Linked DNA regions of Homo sapiens: region 1 is linked to region 2. Evidence: promoter capture Hi-C in 16 types of primary human blood cells and fetal thymus (Javierre and others, 2016). All regions are on one chromosome and are shown on one strand. Each heading gives the region's core, a stretch centred on a gene start or on the middle of the fragment in contact. The rest is flanking DNA. Distances are from core to core; before and after follow the strand shown.

Region 1 (7,034 bases), core at 2,417-4,916, 780 kb after region 2:
TAAGAGAGCCAGGTCTAGCTCACAAAGTGGCCCCCAGAGTACTGTGTGACTTTGGAAAAGGGGCTTAACCTCTCTGAGCCTCATGACTCTCTAAGGGATGGCTTCCCACGCTCGTCAAATAGTGTCTCTGCTAACAATTACAATACCCCTGTGAAGTAGGTATGGTTGTTACCATGTTACCATAATTAACATGGGATGTACCCTTTAGGGGACCTGGCCCCAGACCCCACCCCGTCTCACAGGGGCTCCAGCTAAAAGGAGGACAGGCTGAGCAGCTCTGCACTCCCCGACCCCTGCTGTCCAGCTTCAGCTGTCAGGGCCCCTGTGGGCAGAAGCACAAGTGAAGAAATTTAGTAAGGCTGCAGAGGCCAACGTTCTGGCCTCATAAAGCCCTTTTCCAAAACAGCTGCCCACAGCTGCCCAGAGCTATGTTCTGCAATAAATTGGCCCACTGCCCTGGAAATGGAGGGGCTGAGGGCTGGGGCACAGGGGCCAGGGTCGGCAGGAGGAGAAGGAAGAAAGGCATTCCTGGAGGAGTGAAAAGAGTCTCTCTCTGCCCTCTCAAGCCTCAGTTTCCCCAGGTGTAAAGTACAGAGAATCCCCCTCCCCCACATTGCACAGCAATGGTAAGGAGGAGACAGTATCGTGGAGGGTCCTAGGCGAGGCCTGTCACGGAGTGTGTTCTTGGTAGGTCCCCCCCCCAGATGTTAATATAACGTGCGTTCTTGGTAGGTCCCCCTCGAAAGTCCAGCACAACCACCATTCCCAGTTTCTGCTGTCATACAGCCTACCCCCACCCCTCCCCAGCCCCCAGACTGCAAGGAACATACACACCTCTCTCTCCCTCACAATAGACAAATTGCCAAATTCTGGGGCTTCTAAGCAGGTTGTGCCCTACTGAAAGCCAGGTACTGGCAGCTCAGTCTATGCCTGTTGAAAAGGCCATTCAGAAAGGGAGTGCTTTTCCTGGTTGGCTGCAGATATGTTTTATTTGTACTTCATTTACCAGAATGTCCCCAACAGGTTGCAGCAGAGGAAATAGAAGCATGACCTTGCTGGTCTGCACGTGTTCCCAGGCCAAGTCCCAGGGTGCAAAGTGAGCTCTCAGGCTTCCTTTCTGCTGAGGGTAGAAAATCATCTGCTCAGGATAACTTGGTGCCTTCTGATGTCAAACGGGGAAACACTCAGTCCCTTCAGGGTTTGTCCCTCTCCTCTCCAGGGAAGGTCTGAGCCCGGAGGGAGGGAAGTGCATATTATTCTGACCACAGTGGTCCCTTGTGCCCACTGGCCTTGGAGGGCTGACCCTCATGCCCCTCTGTCCTTGTTTTCATAGCCGGGGATCTGAGGATGACGGCTGCCTTCCTCTGTGCTCTCCATTCACAAGGCCTCCCTTGTGCTGAGTCCCCCAGCCCTCTCCCAGCAGTGCCCCAATCTCAGGGGGCTCAGATTCTCCTGGAGGCTTTGCAGACAGGTGCCATGCAGGGCCTGTGGGACTGTGAGGCCAGGAGACCCTTCAACTCACTGCTCTTTGCTCTGCAGCCTGGCGGGACCTGGCCCTTCCATCTAGATCATGAGCAGAGAAGCAAGATGCAGCTTCCCCCCGCTGCCTCTCTCATGGGTCTGGGCTTGCTGTTGCTGCTTCACCCAAAGTTGATCCAAGAAGGGGACAGGCATATCCTCCAGGTGGACCTATGCCCAGCAAAAATCAGCATTTATAATAATACACAATCTCTGTTTCCTCTGTTGTGAAAGACAGTGAGACACTGCAAAGTGGCATGCTTTGCCCTTGCTAACACAGTCAGGAAGTGGAGAACAAGGACTCACCTCCAATCCTGTATTCCCACCTCTGTCATTGCCATTGCACACCCATCCTGGTGTTTCCTAAAAACAGCAATGAGAAAACACCCCAACTTCCCTGTGCACTGGGTAATTGCCCTCCTCCTCTTACATAGACCGTATGCAAATCCCCTATTACATCACAGTTAGCAGAAAGTGACCCAAATGGAACTGTGAACACCCTATGGGCAGAAAATTAGAAGTAAGATCATATCAGTCCTTCTGACAGTTAAAGTAAAATTTTATGTGAGCAATATACTCTCACTCTGATTACCATGCAGTATAATTTTATTCTGGTTTTCCTGGGCCTGCTGAACCCCTGCTCTTTTAAGTGTTCCAATGCTCTGCTTGCCAAGATAAATGATTATAATTGACAGGGCATTGTCAATCTATCGAGAAGCTGATTTCATTAAGCATGCCAAGGGCCAGCTCTGGGGCAGGTAGCTGAGCGGAGAGGGGTTTGATCTCACCCTCTCCCTGTAGTACAGTCCACACTGGCACCAAAGGCTGGAGGGCAAGAGAACAAAGGGAACGTTATGTCTCTGAATTCAAATCTTTCCCTTTGAAATGAGGCGTCCAGAATGGCCAGTAAAACTGTGGAAATGGATTTCTGGCTGCATTTGATGTTAAACCTTTAGTGTCAAGCGCCAGGTCTACCGGTTGCCTTCCCCCCACCCTTCTTTTCTTTCTTCCTTTTGCTCCCCTTGTCTTCCCCCCTTCTCTGGATGGCCTTGTGGGGAATTTGTCTTTTCATAAATAATTTCTTAGAGTTGGCAGTTAGACAGTTGCATCCCATTTCTGCTTTGACGTGAGAAGAGCAAATTAAGTCTTAAAAGGATGGAGACTCACTCTTGTGTCTGTAATAGAATTGGTCTCATATAGATTGATTAAGACCCAGACTTCTCTGGCTTCAGTGTTAAATCCTCTGTTTATTAAGGCAACTCCATGCATGGAGTCTGTCTTTTCCCATTAAGTCATCATAATCCTGCATTCCATCCCTTTCTACCTAAAGGAAGAGTTGGAGAAAAAGTTCAGTCTGGGGCCTCCTCCCTAATCATCTGTGGCCAGATATACCCAACAAGGAGTCAAGCTTTCATCTTCAGGCTTTAGCCTCACCCTTGACTGAGAGAAGAAGATACAGCCATCCAAAGTGACGTCCTCGCCACCCTGCTGAACTGTGCTCAGGCTGAGGAAGAGGATGGAAAACAGAGCTTTGAACACCCAGCCCATCATCAGCTTGCAAAATCGCAGTGAAACTAGTGTGTAGCCCTCCCCACCCCGGCTATATCCCTGAGTGGGATCAAGCTAATCGGCCCCACTCACACTGTGGTTCATGGTTTGTGATAAGAGGAGAGGAGCTATGAAGAGAACAGGAAGCAAGATATGGAATCCAAAAAACCCAGTTTCCAGTCCTGATGCTGCCCCTGATGGACTGATTTTGGGCTGCTGACTTCTCCCTGGGCTCAGACTTACAGCTGTGAAACGAGACCCCCTATCACAAGTTCCAAAGCAGCTGGGACCCTCCAAATCCGTCATATGAAGAAGAGTTCATGTCCCTGCAAGAACACCACAGCCATTAACCTCATTCATGCTTCATAAGAAGTTAGCTGAGTGTCGTGGCGTGCACCTATAATCCCAGCTATTCAGGAGGCTGAGGCAGGAGAATCACTTGAACCCCGGAGGCAGAGGTTGCAGTGAGCTGAGATTGAGCCCCTGCACTCCAGCCTGGGTGACAGAGTGAGACTATGTCTCAAAAAAAAAAAAAAAAGTTAAGCAGAGCAAGTACTATTTTCTTCCACTCTCAGAGTGGGGAAATTGAGGCATAGAGCACCTGGCAGTAGTGATAGAGCCATTCAAGGGAAGAGTGCCATTTCCTGTAATAAAGCCACCTAGGTTGGCTGGAAATCACACACACACACACACAAAAAAAACTCAGGGTAAACTGTACCAAACAGCTTCTTAAACAGGTAGAACAGCTGGCAAGATAGCAAGAAGTCCTGAAGTCCAAATCTAACTGGGGTTAGAGAAGGAAGCGGAGTTGCAAAGCCCTGAGGACATCTGATAACCATATAGGGACCTTGACCTTGCATTTTCAGAGCCTCCAAGGGTACCGAGACATACGACAAAGCCTAGAGCCCATTCAGGTGGAGTGAGGATAGGAAGGGAGGTGAAGGGAGAGTGTCCAAGAGAAGATCCTCCTTATAAAAAGCCAGATTCTCAAAGGGCACAAGGGCAAGCTCAATGGACACACACACACACACACACACACACACACACACACGGAATATAGCCCGAGTGCAAAGCAGAAATGTCCTTAGAATGTCAGTTGGGGGCCCACAACACAGCGCCCCTCCCTCTCTGGCCTCCCCCTGAACTGCTCCCACACACTCCCCAGCTCTTACCATCCCCTCCTTCCCTGCCTCCCGTAGGCTGCAGTCTCAGGCTAAAGCTGCTGCTGGACACCCTCCACAAATACATCCCTCCTCAACCACAGCCCCAGCTTCATCCACATTGGCCAATCCCCATATCGATTATATCTCTTCAAAATCAGAACCCTGGAAAAAATCAAATCAAGCTTTGTCTGCTCAGGTGTTAGGATTTCTCTCCTAATAATAACAACAAATTCAATGAAAATCATAGACACGTCTTCTAGAAACAGCTTCTCTTATATTTTCATGGACCCAAACCATGTCTGAGAGATGGGACGGGGCACAGATGCCAGTAGAAAGGGGACATCATCTGGGGACACCACCCCTGGCCCCAACTCCACTTCTGGCTGATGCTGGCCTGGTGATGGTCCTAGTCCATTTCAGGGCTATGCCCAACATCAGATTCTCTGCAGCCCCACCTTTTTTCCTAAAGACAGAACCTGCTAAGGAAGGAAGGATGAGCTGCTCCAAACCCCTGGGTGTCACCTTGACCTCATCCAGGCCCTGAGCAACAGGACCAGGCCAGAGACCACAAAGTGCACCAGCAGGGGTAGTGCCCTACGAGGTCCCAGCAGGTCCCCACCTTGGCCACACCACACCACAGCCAGTGTGAAGGGCTGGCCCAATCCTTGGTGCTTTTTTGCATGCAATAGCTTCTTTGCTTCTCATGGCAACCCTGCGGAGTGGGGAGGGGCAGGACAGCCCTTACTCTGTGCATTTACAGATGAGGACAAAAGGCTGGCAGGCAAGACACCCAGCAGAGGCACAAGAGGACTGGGGAGAGGGGAAATGAGGATCTGAGAAGGTGCTTGCCGTTTACAAACAGCCTCCCTCAGATGAACTCAGAGAAAAGCAAGGAACAAGGCAACAGTTTCTAAGTTGACTTTTGCCATTGGAGCTGTGTTTCCTGTCCTTAAGCCCCCGGTGTCTGGACCACATGGTCACATCTTCAATAAAGTGAATTGAGTTTGGTTTATACAGCAGAAGAAGACCATCACCTTCTTGTCACTGGATTGATGGTGCTGAAATGGAGGAAGTAAAAGGGTTGGAGATGGGCCGGGTGCAGTGGCTCACACCTGTAATCCCAACAGTTTGGAAGGCCGAGGGGGGCAGATCACTTGAGGTCAGGAGTTAGAGACCAGCCTGGCCAACATGGCGAAACCCCATCTTTACTAAAAACACAAAAATTAGCTGGGCAAGGTGGCGCATGCCTGTAGTCACAACTACATGGGAGGCTGAGGCAGGAGAATCGCTTGAACCCCGGAGGCGGAGGTTGTAGTGAGCCTAGATCACGCCACTGCACTCCAGCCTGGGTGACAGCGAGACTCCGTCTCAATCAATCAATCAATATAAAATAAAATAAAATAAAAGGGTTGAAAAGGAAGGCAGGGAGAAGTACTGCATGCTTTGCCAGAACTAAAAATTAGTCCTGAAATTTTTGAAACCTCATTTAGGATTGGAAAGGGTGTCTAATTTCAAAGCTTCCAATTGATCTGTTTTTAACATATACATGAAGATGTGAATTTATCATTGGAGAAAGAGAATACTCTTGTTTTTGTGAAAAAACAACACATAACAGGTTCTTTTGGAGCTAAAGCAGAGGCCTGCAGCTGATACAGCTATATCTGTGGAACACACCATTCTATATCCAAGTCAGGATGTATTTGTTGAGACCTACTGTGTACCAGACACTGTTCTAGGCTCTGGAAAATGGCAGTGAATAAAACAGATAACAATTCTCACCCTCATAGAGAAGACAGATAAAAATAAGTTAGCTGACTTTAGGGCACATATCAAGATGTTAAATGCTTTGAAAGAGAACAAAACAAGGAGCAGGGTAGGGAATGCTAGAAGGGCTGCGAATTTAAATACAGCAATCAGGGAAACGCTGTTCTAAAAGGACAGAGAGTAAAGAAATGAACTATCAAGCCGTGAAAAAACATGGAGGAACCTTTCATGCATAGCACTAAGCAAAAGAAGCCAGTCTGAAAAGACTACATACTGTATAATTCCAACTCTATGACACACGGGAAAAGGCAAAACTTTGGAGACAGTAAAAAAAGATCGGTGGTTGGCAGGGGTCGGGAGAGACAGAGATGAATAGACAGAGCCCGGAAGACTTCCAGGGCAGTGAAAATACTCTACATGGTCATAAAATGGTGGATCCCTGTCAACGGAGTTCTTCATCGGCCCATCCCCACTATATTAGTCCATCCTCATGCTGCTATAAGGACATACCCAAGACTGGGTAATTTGTAAAGGAAAGAGGTTTAATTGACTCACAGTTCCACATGGCTGGGGAGGCCTCAGGAAACTTACAATCATGGCAGAAGGGGAAGCAAACACATCCTTCTTCATATGGCAGCAGCAAGGAGAAGTGCCTAGCAAAAGGGGGAAAGCCCCTTATAAACCATCAGATCTCATGAGAACTCACTCACTGTCATGAGAGCAGCAGCATGGGAGTAACCACCCCCATGATTCAATTACCTCCCACCGGGTCCCTCCCACGACCCATGGGGATTATGGGAACCACAATTCAAGATGAGAATTGGATGCGGACACAGCCAAACCATATCACCCACATGGACATAGAAAAAAAGGGACCAAATGCCTAGCCCTATCTTTTTAAGTGGATAATTTTTCTTTAAAGACATTAAGTGGAAAGAAGTAGGATTGCTGGTGTGGGCACCAGTGCCTAGATCCAAGTGCATGAGGATGCCCCAGGTCCACATCTTTCTTCATACAACTCCCTGACCCCAGAGGGGAACC
Region 2 (7,000 bases), core at 4,288-6,787:
CTGAGACACACACTTGCCCCCATTTTACATAGCAAGTGGGACTTGGTCCCGATTCTCAAATGAGTGCCCAGAGGAAACAATAGATCCTCAGAGCTCAATTCTGCATCTGACAATTTCCTACTATCCTGACTGTTGAGTGCATTCATAATCATTTATCTAATGCATCTCTTTTTCACCAGATGGCAAACTTCAACCCAGTAAAGACGATGTGCCATATCACCTTTATCCAGAACATTGCCTACCCTACAGTCGATGCTCAATAAAAGCATGTGAACATACACACATGAACATACAAATCTACACAGATGTGGCATCTCAGGGATGTATAATCATTCTCAGAAGTAGAGCAGTTTAAGTTCATGTTGAGAAAATATTGGCTCTAACTGTAATGTAATCTGCTTCTGTGTATCATGGACTTGGCACCATCCACCACTTACATCATTCCACAGAACAGAGCCAGTCCTGTTGTTAATCATCCTGATTCCTGACTGTGCTAAAGCTCACCGTGGATAGAAATGATTGGCATCTCTGATATGCAAAGACCTAGTGAAGGTTTGCAATGACTGACTTTCTTTGACCTGGGCCACTGTAGATATCTAAGCAGAACCTCCTCTCCCAAACTGGCCTAGAAAAGTGAAAAAAAAAAAAGGTGGGGTGGGGGGACTTGGAGGATTTCACTCTCTTCTGGACGATAAGAATAAATAAGGAAGAGTCACCTCCCGATGACCACACAGCCAAGTTATAAAGGGGCTCCCATCACTTACACGTGTGCAGAGCAAACCTGCCCATGCCCCACCTTCAATCAAAAAGTCTTTTCTGTTGCACAAGCCCAAGCTTCCAAAACTCTCTCTCCTTGTCCATCATTGCTTCCTTCATCCTGTTCTCATTCTCTGATCATTTTTATCCCTACCTGTCCAAGACATGGTGGAGAGCAGACTCAAGGCCTGACCAAGTCAAACTCAGGATCTTGAATATATAACTTGCCCATGATCCCATATTCTGAACTATCCCTGGACATAGCTTCATCTTCACTTTGAGTCAAAATCATCTTTCCTGCTTGCCAGATCTGGTTCCTCCCCTACATATACACACAAAGTAAGCCTCCTCTTTTCAATATAGTTGTCATTTCCAGAGTCACTGTCAGGCATGAGCGTGTTGACCACACAAGCAACACTCAAACCACAGGAAGCAGGACTTGGAACTAGAGGCCAGAGTGAAAGAGTTCAGATATGGAAGGAGTCCAATCAGATAGAGCTCAGGACTCACATCATGTAGCTTTTCTGGAAAGAGGGCTGAAAACAGAGGATAAGTCCTGGGATTTGGTGCTCAATGTCATGTTCCTGGGGAATGGCATACCTCAGAGCCAAGGGTGCTTATTTGCACAGCTGCACACTGAGGCTACAGAAATGCTCAGTGGCTGTGTGGCTGGAAGGGGCTGCTGTAATGTGTGTGCATGGGGAGAGAGGGGCAACCCTGAAGGCAGAATGGGTTTGGCTGCTCAGGTCCTGTGACTGTGGTTGCTAGGAGGCTCAGGCTCAGTTTTGAAAGGAGCCTCTGAACTCTTGGAAAAGCTCCTTCCAAATCAGAAATGATGAGAAGCTGAACACAACCTTCGGCTCAAGTTCACCAGTGGAGAGGTCAGGAGTAAGTAGTGCATGAGCCAGGGGTTATCAAATTGAACTTTATGCTCTTAAAGATAAATACCATATCCAAATGCTGTGTCTTCTTTGCTAAAAATTACCAGCCAGCCTGGCTATTTATGAACTTTATTCAGAAGTATTTATTGAGCACCTACCGTGTACCAGGCACTACATTATACATTATGGATACTCACACAAAGTCCTAGTTCCTGCCTGTTGTGGTTAATTTTATGCGTCAGCTTGACTGGATTGCAGACTAATTAGATATTTGATCGCACATTATTCTGAGTGTTTTTATGAGGCTGTTTTGGAATGAGATTAACATTTAAATTGGTGGGCTTTGGATAAAGCATACTGCCCTTCTGAATTTGAGTGGGCCTTAACCAATCAGTTGAAGGCCTGAATAGAATAAAAAGGCTGACCTTGTCCTACGTTATGGGGAACGTCTGCTACCTGACTGCCTTGAGCTGGAACATAGGGTTTTTTTTTTCCTGTGTCAAATCTCTTTCTGGGCTGAGAGTCTGCTGGCCTTCAGACAGAAACTTATACTATAGACTCTCTCGATGCTCAGACTTGGACTGGAACTAAATCACTGGGTCTCCTGGCTCTTGAGCTTGCCAACCACAGACCTAGCCACGTGAATGATAGGCATCCATTTTCTCCCTACCTTTCTGTACTGCCTTTCACGATGCTGGCTTCACCCTCTATGCAATATTCTGGATGTTCTGGATTCTTCCTCATTGATTAAAAAAAAAATGGCTGTAGCTGTTGCAGACTTTACACCCTTACAAACTACTATCCAGAGAAAAAGAAAGAGTGCCGAGAGATCCTATGAAGAAAAATAAGGCTTCCCTTTCTCAGAATCTCCAATAAATACTTCATATTTCCTTGTCTCTGATTGGGTTGTGTACTCATCCTTGAACCAATCACAGTGGCCAAAGGGATGGGTACAATAATCGGTAAAGCCAATGAGAGTCCACTCCTGAAACTAGACCCAGGGGTTAATTTTGCTATTAATTACATCTGAGAACAAGAGGGAGTGGTTCCCCCTTAACAATGCTAAGTACTGTTTCCTGAAGATGATTGGATGGAAGAAAGAGAACAAGTACCATACAAATTCACTCCACTGACCTCCTGAGTTAAGCCCTTACATGTGCTGTTCCTCTCACCTCTGCCAATTCCCCTACTGTCATTTCTCATCTCAGACTAGTCCTTCTATCCCCAGTGACTGGTTGACATTTCTGGGGAGCTCTCCTGACCACTCCCTTCCTAGACCAGATTAAGTGGCCCTGTTTTGCCTCCTCCGACACTCCCCTAACAAGCACCTGCTGCTCTCCTGGCACTTCTATCAGTGTCTGAGTCACTTGTTTACTTGTTGCCCAAACCCACTGGACTATAAATTTTTTTCACAGTATTGCCAAGAGAAAACACATAGCTTCAGGTGCTAGGAGCTGTGCTCAAAACTATTTGAAAGGTGAATGCAGGAATGGATGGATGAGTGAATGAATGAGGTGGGTGAATAATGAAATGAATGAATGAAGTGACTTAGACTTTAATCTTAACCAACTGAAAGAAAGAAAGGTCTCATTATCAGCACTCCAGGAAAGCCAGGAGAGATCTTGTTTTCCTAGATACTGGTCAAATTTGATAGAGAATATTGTTTTGAAATATGAAATGCTGAAACCAGGGAAGAACCTGATTTAACATCGTAAGAAGAATCAGACGTACAAAAATAGCAAGTGAATGCAGTTAATTACGATTTAAATATTGATCATAAAGGACTCTTTCAGCCTGAATTAACATAGTGAATTTCAAATCAAAGACCCTGTATAATCAGATAAAGATTGACCATTGACCCTGGCATTGTGCCAGATGACTAAGTCAGGTCTCATCCTTTCTTGGGAAACCTCCCCTTGGTGTTGACATTCCAGGGAGAGGCATGGGTCCAGCACTGCACCCAAATATTGAGTCTGCATGGATGTAATCAGAGATGGGGCACCGGACTGTCTTTGAAAGGGATTTCCTTCAAACCATGAAACTGATCATTAATCACTTTTGCGTAGCTTGCTGTGTTGTTGCAATGATGGGGAAATTCAAGTAAAAAACAAAATTCACCTGACAATAAAATATAAATCTGTGTCAATATCACAGTATATGTGGCAAAAAGCAGCCCAACCATGGTCTCAACTCAAGATAATCAGGACAGAAAGTCTATATAGCACTTGGAATCTCACAGGAGTCTTGGCTTTCCTGTTGTCTTTACTGTACTTTGCTTTAACCAACCTGGAAGGACAACATCACCACACCTGTCTTGCAGAAGAGAAAACTGAGGCCCAGAAGGCTAATGGGATTTGTGCACAGCTACTAACAATTGTCCACCTAATGATTTGAATTCAGATAGCTTCTTTAATGCTCTTCAACACAACTTCCTCACTCTAAGTCAAATGTGAGCAGCATTAAAAGAAAATAAAAGTACAGTATTGTACAGAAAGCAACATACGTCATTCATGGCTGTGTGTGTCCATAAATATGTGTGTGTATATATATATGCATGTATATATGTATCTATATGTATGATAAAAAATAAAAATAACAACTACAACAACAAAAAAACAGAACATGGAAGTAAAAAAAGAGAGTGATTTTCCAGCAGGTTCCTGCAGAGCCCTTCTCTTGATTCCTGAGAGGTTCAATTAACGGATGCAAGTCATAAAACAGTGCATTTTCTCTCTGCTATGATGCATTGTTTTTAATCTCACTGCCTTGTATTATATCACATTCCTATAATTCTTCCGACAGGAAAAGGCTTGTTTCATAAAAATATAGTCCCCAGCATTTGAAATATAAGTTCACATGCAAGCAACATATATATCACCAAGCTGGCAAACTAACTCACTTACTTAATCCACTAAACTTCAGGTGCTTTCTATATTATGTGAAATGGCTTGAAACAGGCAGAAGCTGCCAGGACCCATCACGGCTTCTTTGCTCAAGAGAGACAAGAGGAGAAGGGGAGAAGGGAGCGGGGGGAGTGGAAATTCCCTCAGTGGATTCCACAATAACATGCCTTTCATTATCACCCAGTGTCAGGACACTGGGTAATGTTCATTGTGCATGCACAATAAATTACTATTTACCTGGCAGTGCTTTTGATAAGCTCGTCTCCTCACCCCCTTTCTGTCCATGCAGCACAGAGCAGCGAAACCCCTTTGCCTATAATTCTTATTAAGGTGATACCTTTTCTGAATAAGAAAGTACACACTTCCAAAGCTGGCACTCTCTGGGGTTTTTAAGGGACATTGTTTTTATTGGTTCCCTTTTATTTCTTCCACCCCACTGTGTTTTAATGCTATAGTGACTTCTGTGTATACAACTCTCATATTGAAATGTCGGCTGCAGATATATGCAATATTAAAGAGCGCTTATGAATTTTTGACATCTAATTAGTCGCTACCCTGTTAACATGTCAGGACTCAGAGGGATTAGGGAGGCAGCCCTTTCTGAATAAGTTACAGTGAGGCTCCTGTCCTTTTCATGTATTATTCTTTAATGTAGGTGGTGATTATTTGGCTGTGATTAATTGATGAAGCCCATTGGTCTGGCAAGTGGTGCCGAATTCACCATTCCTCACTTTTATTTCTCTCAGTAGGGTTCTGCCACTTAATCGGAAGGACCTGCTTCCTTCCAGGCAATCTCTCTGTGCAGCGTTCTGGGGCAGAGGGACTGTTCTGGGTGACCCACCTAGACCCTTTCACAGCTCTTGGCTCCCTGGTCAGCAGTGGGTTTTGCATCCTGTCTTCTTGGACAAGCCCTGTGCCCTGTGCCCCCTGGCCAGGCATGTCTGAAATGCAGTGGCACCCCCTATACAAAGGCTTCCTGTTGCTCCCCTTTTCTCTCATATCTGATTTTCGAGCCTTGCTTTCTGGTACCTTTAACACCTGTAGCTCCCTGCCTGGCTCAGTTTACTTCTGGGTTCAGCTGCCTGCCAAGACGCCAGGTGACAATCGGGGCTCTCCAAGGCCGCTCCTGCCATTGTCTCCAGCTGTGGGGCCCAAGAAACCACACACGTGAGATGCACAGTCTGATATGGCCGGCTCTGCCCCTCTGGGTAAGTGATACCAAGCTCTAAAAAAAGGCAACAATGAGAAGCGGATGTTGGGGAGAGGGGACCTGCTGGCTGCTGCTTTTGGGCACTGCCCCATGGGTGTCAAACACCCTGCTGTGTGCAGGCAGCTTCCGCCTCCTAGGAACTCTATGCCCACACAGTCCTCCCAGAAGCTCCTGTCCCAGCTCCCTGGGCTCCCACGGAGGAATCCTCTTTCACAGTGGGTTCTTAGGAATGTCAGATCTGATAGTCTTGGATTTGAAGCTGGGCAAGATTTTTAACATTTTAGATAAAGCAAGCAGGGAAATGATTTGTGAGTATAGCTCTGTGTTTAAGCACAGGGAGAGGGAGGTGTTTTCTGCTTCACCGCATGACTCCCCTTCCATACACCCACATGTGCATGCAGGCACACACATGTATACACACAGGTGCATGCATCCATACACACAGACCCACACATGTACACATACAGGCCCACACACACCCATAGATAGACACACACACTCCCAGGTACACATGCAGGTGCACACACCCATGCACACACAGGCATACACAGGTACACACACAGACACACACTCTCTCTCCCACAGCTTTCTAGACAAAGGCTCTGCCATCAGACTTTCGTACCCTGGCCTCCTGGTTTTATGAACAAATAATTCCTTTTTTTGCAAAGCAGAATTCCCCGCCCCCATTATAAACTCCCACCATTCAAATCTATAATTGGGGGAGTAACAGAGCTGTGGCCGACTTATCTTTTTAAATGCACCGACCCTGGACGAGCCATCCTAAAAATGTGTAATTATAAATAAACCTTCACCTATGTCAGCTGGCAGGGTTTTTAATTACTGCACTTGATGTCAATCAAGGCCAGCTCTGGGTATGCATGTTAGGGGGCAATTTCAGAGGAATTTTGCGGACATAAGCTGTTTGCCTTATTCTATTATCTGCATTTAAAAGGGGAGAGGAGGAGATAAGGCGACAGCCAGGAGGGGAGAGAGAAAGAGCAGCTCATGGAAAGAAAATGGTGGGGGAGGCATTTTACCGAGGCTGCAGCATCCTGCTGGGGCTGGGGAGGGCAGATACTGGACATCTCTCCTAACCCAGGGCCCCACACTGCTGGCCCCCTCTTTGTCTCCCAACCCTTTCTTGCAGGAAGATAAGGAGGGAGATGGGAGTGAGGTGTATATTTGCTGATGGAAGGGGGTGGAGGGGGCCCCTGCTAATCATGTGGGGACAAGGCGGGGATGAGGGTGGG

The links. Contacts are between HindIII fragments. The CHiCAGO score rates a contact against its expected background, and 5 or more counts as called.
Region 1: a contact is called between a fragment that was not itself captured here and the fragment with the promoter of LINC02295 in region 2, in 1 of 17 cell types (fetal thymus). The highest score is 5.2, in fetal thymus.

Annotation. Positions count from the first base shown.
Region 1 is chr14:98,914,758-98,921,791 of GRCh38, forward strand. No RefSeq gene overlaps it. Among named protein-coding and RNA genes, the nearest start is that of LINC02914, 210 kb to the left of the region's middle. The HindIII fragment of the contact is 1,485 bases long and covers 2,925-4,409 here.
Region 2 is chr14:98,130,450-98,137,449 of GRCh38, forward strand. It overlaps LINC02295 (long intergenic non-protein coding RNA 2295), which reads left to right and starts at 5,538. Exons shown (of 3, transcript NR_184268.1): 1 at 5,538-5,748. The region is part of intron 1 of LOC105370655 (a long non-coding RNA gene); the gene reads right to left. The HindIII fragment of the contact is 6,410 bases long and covers 833-7,000 here.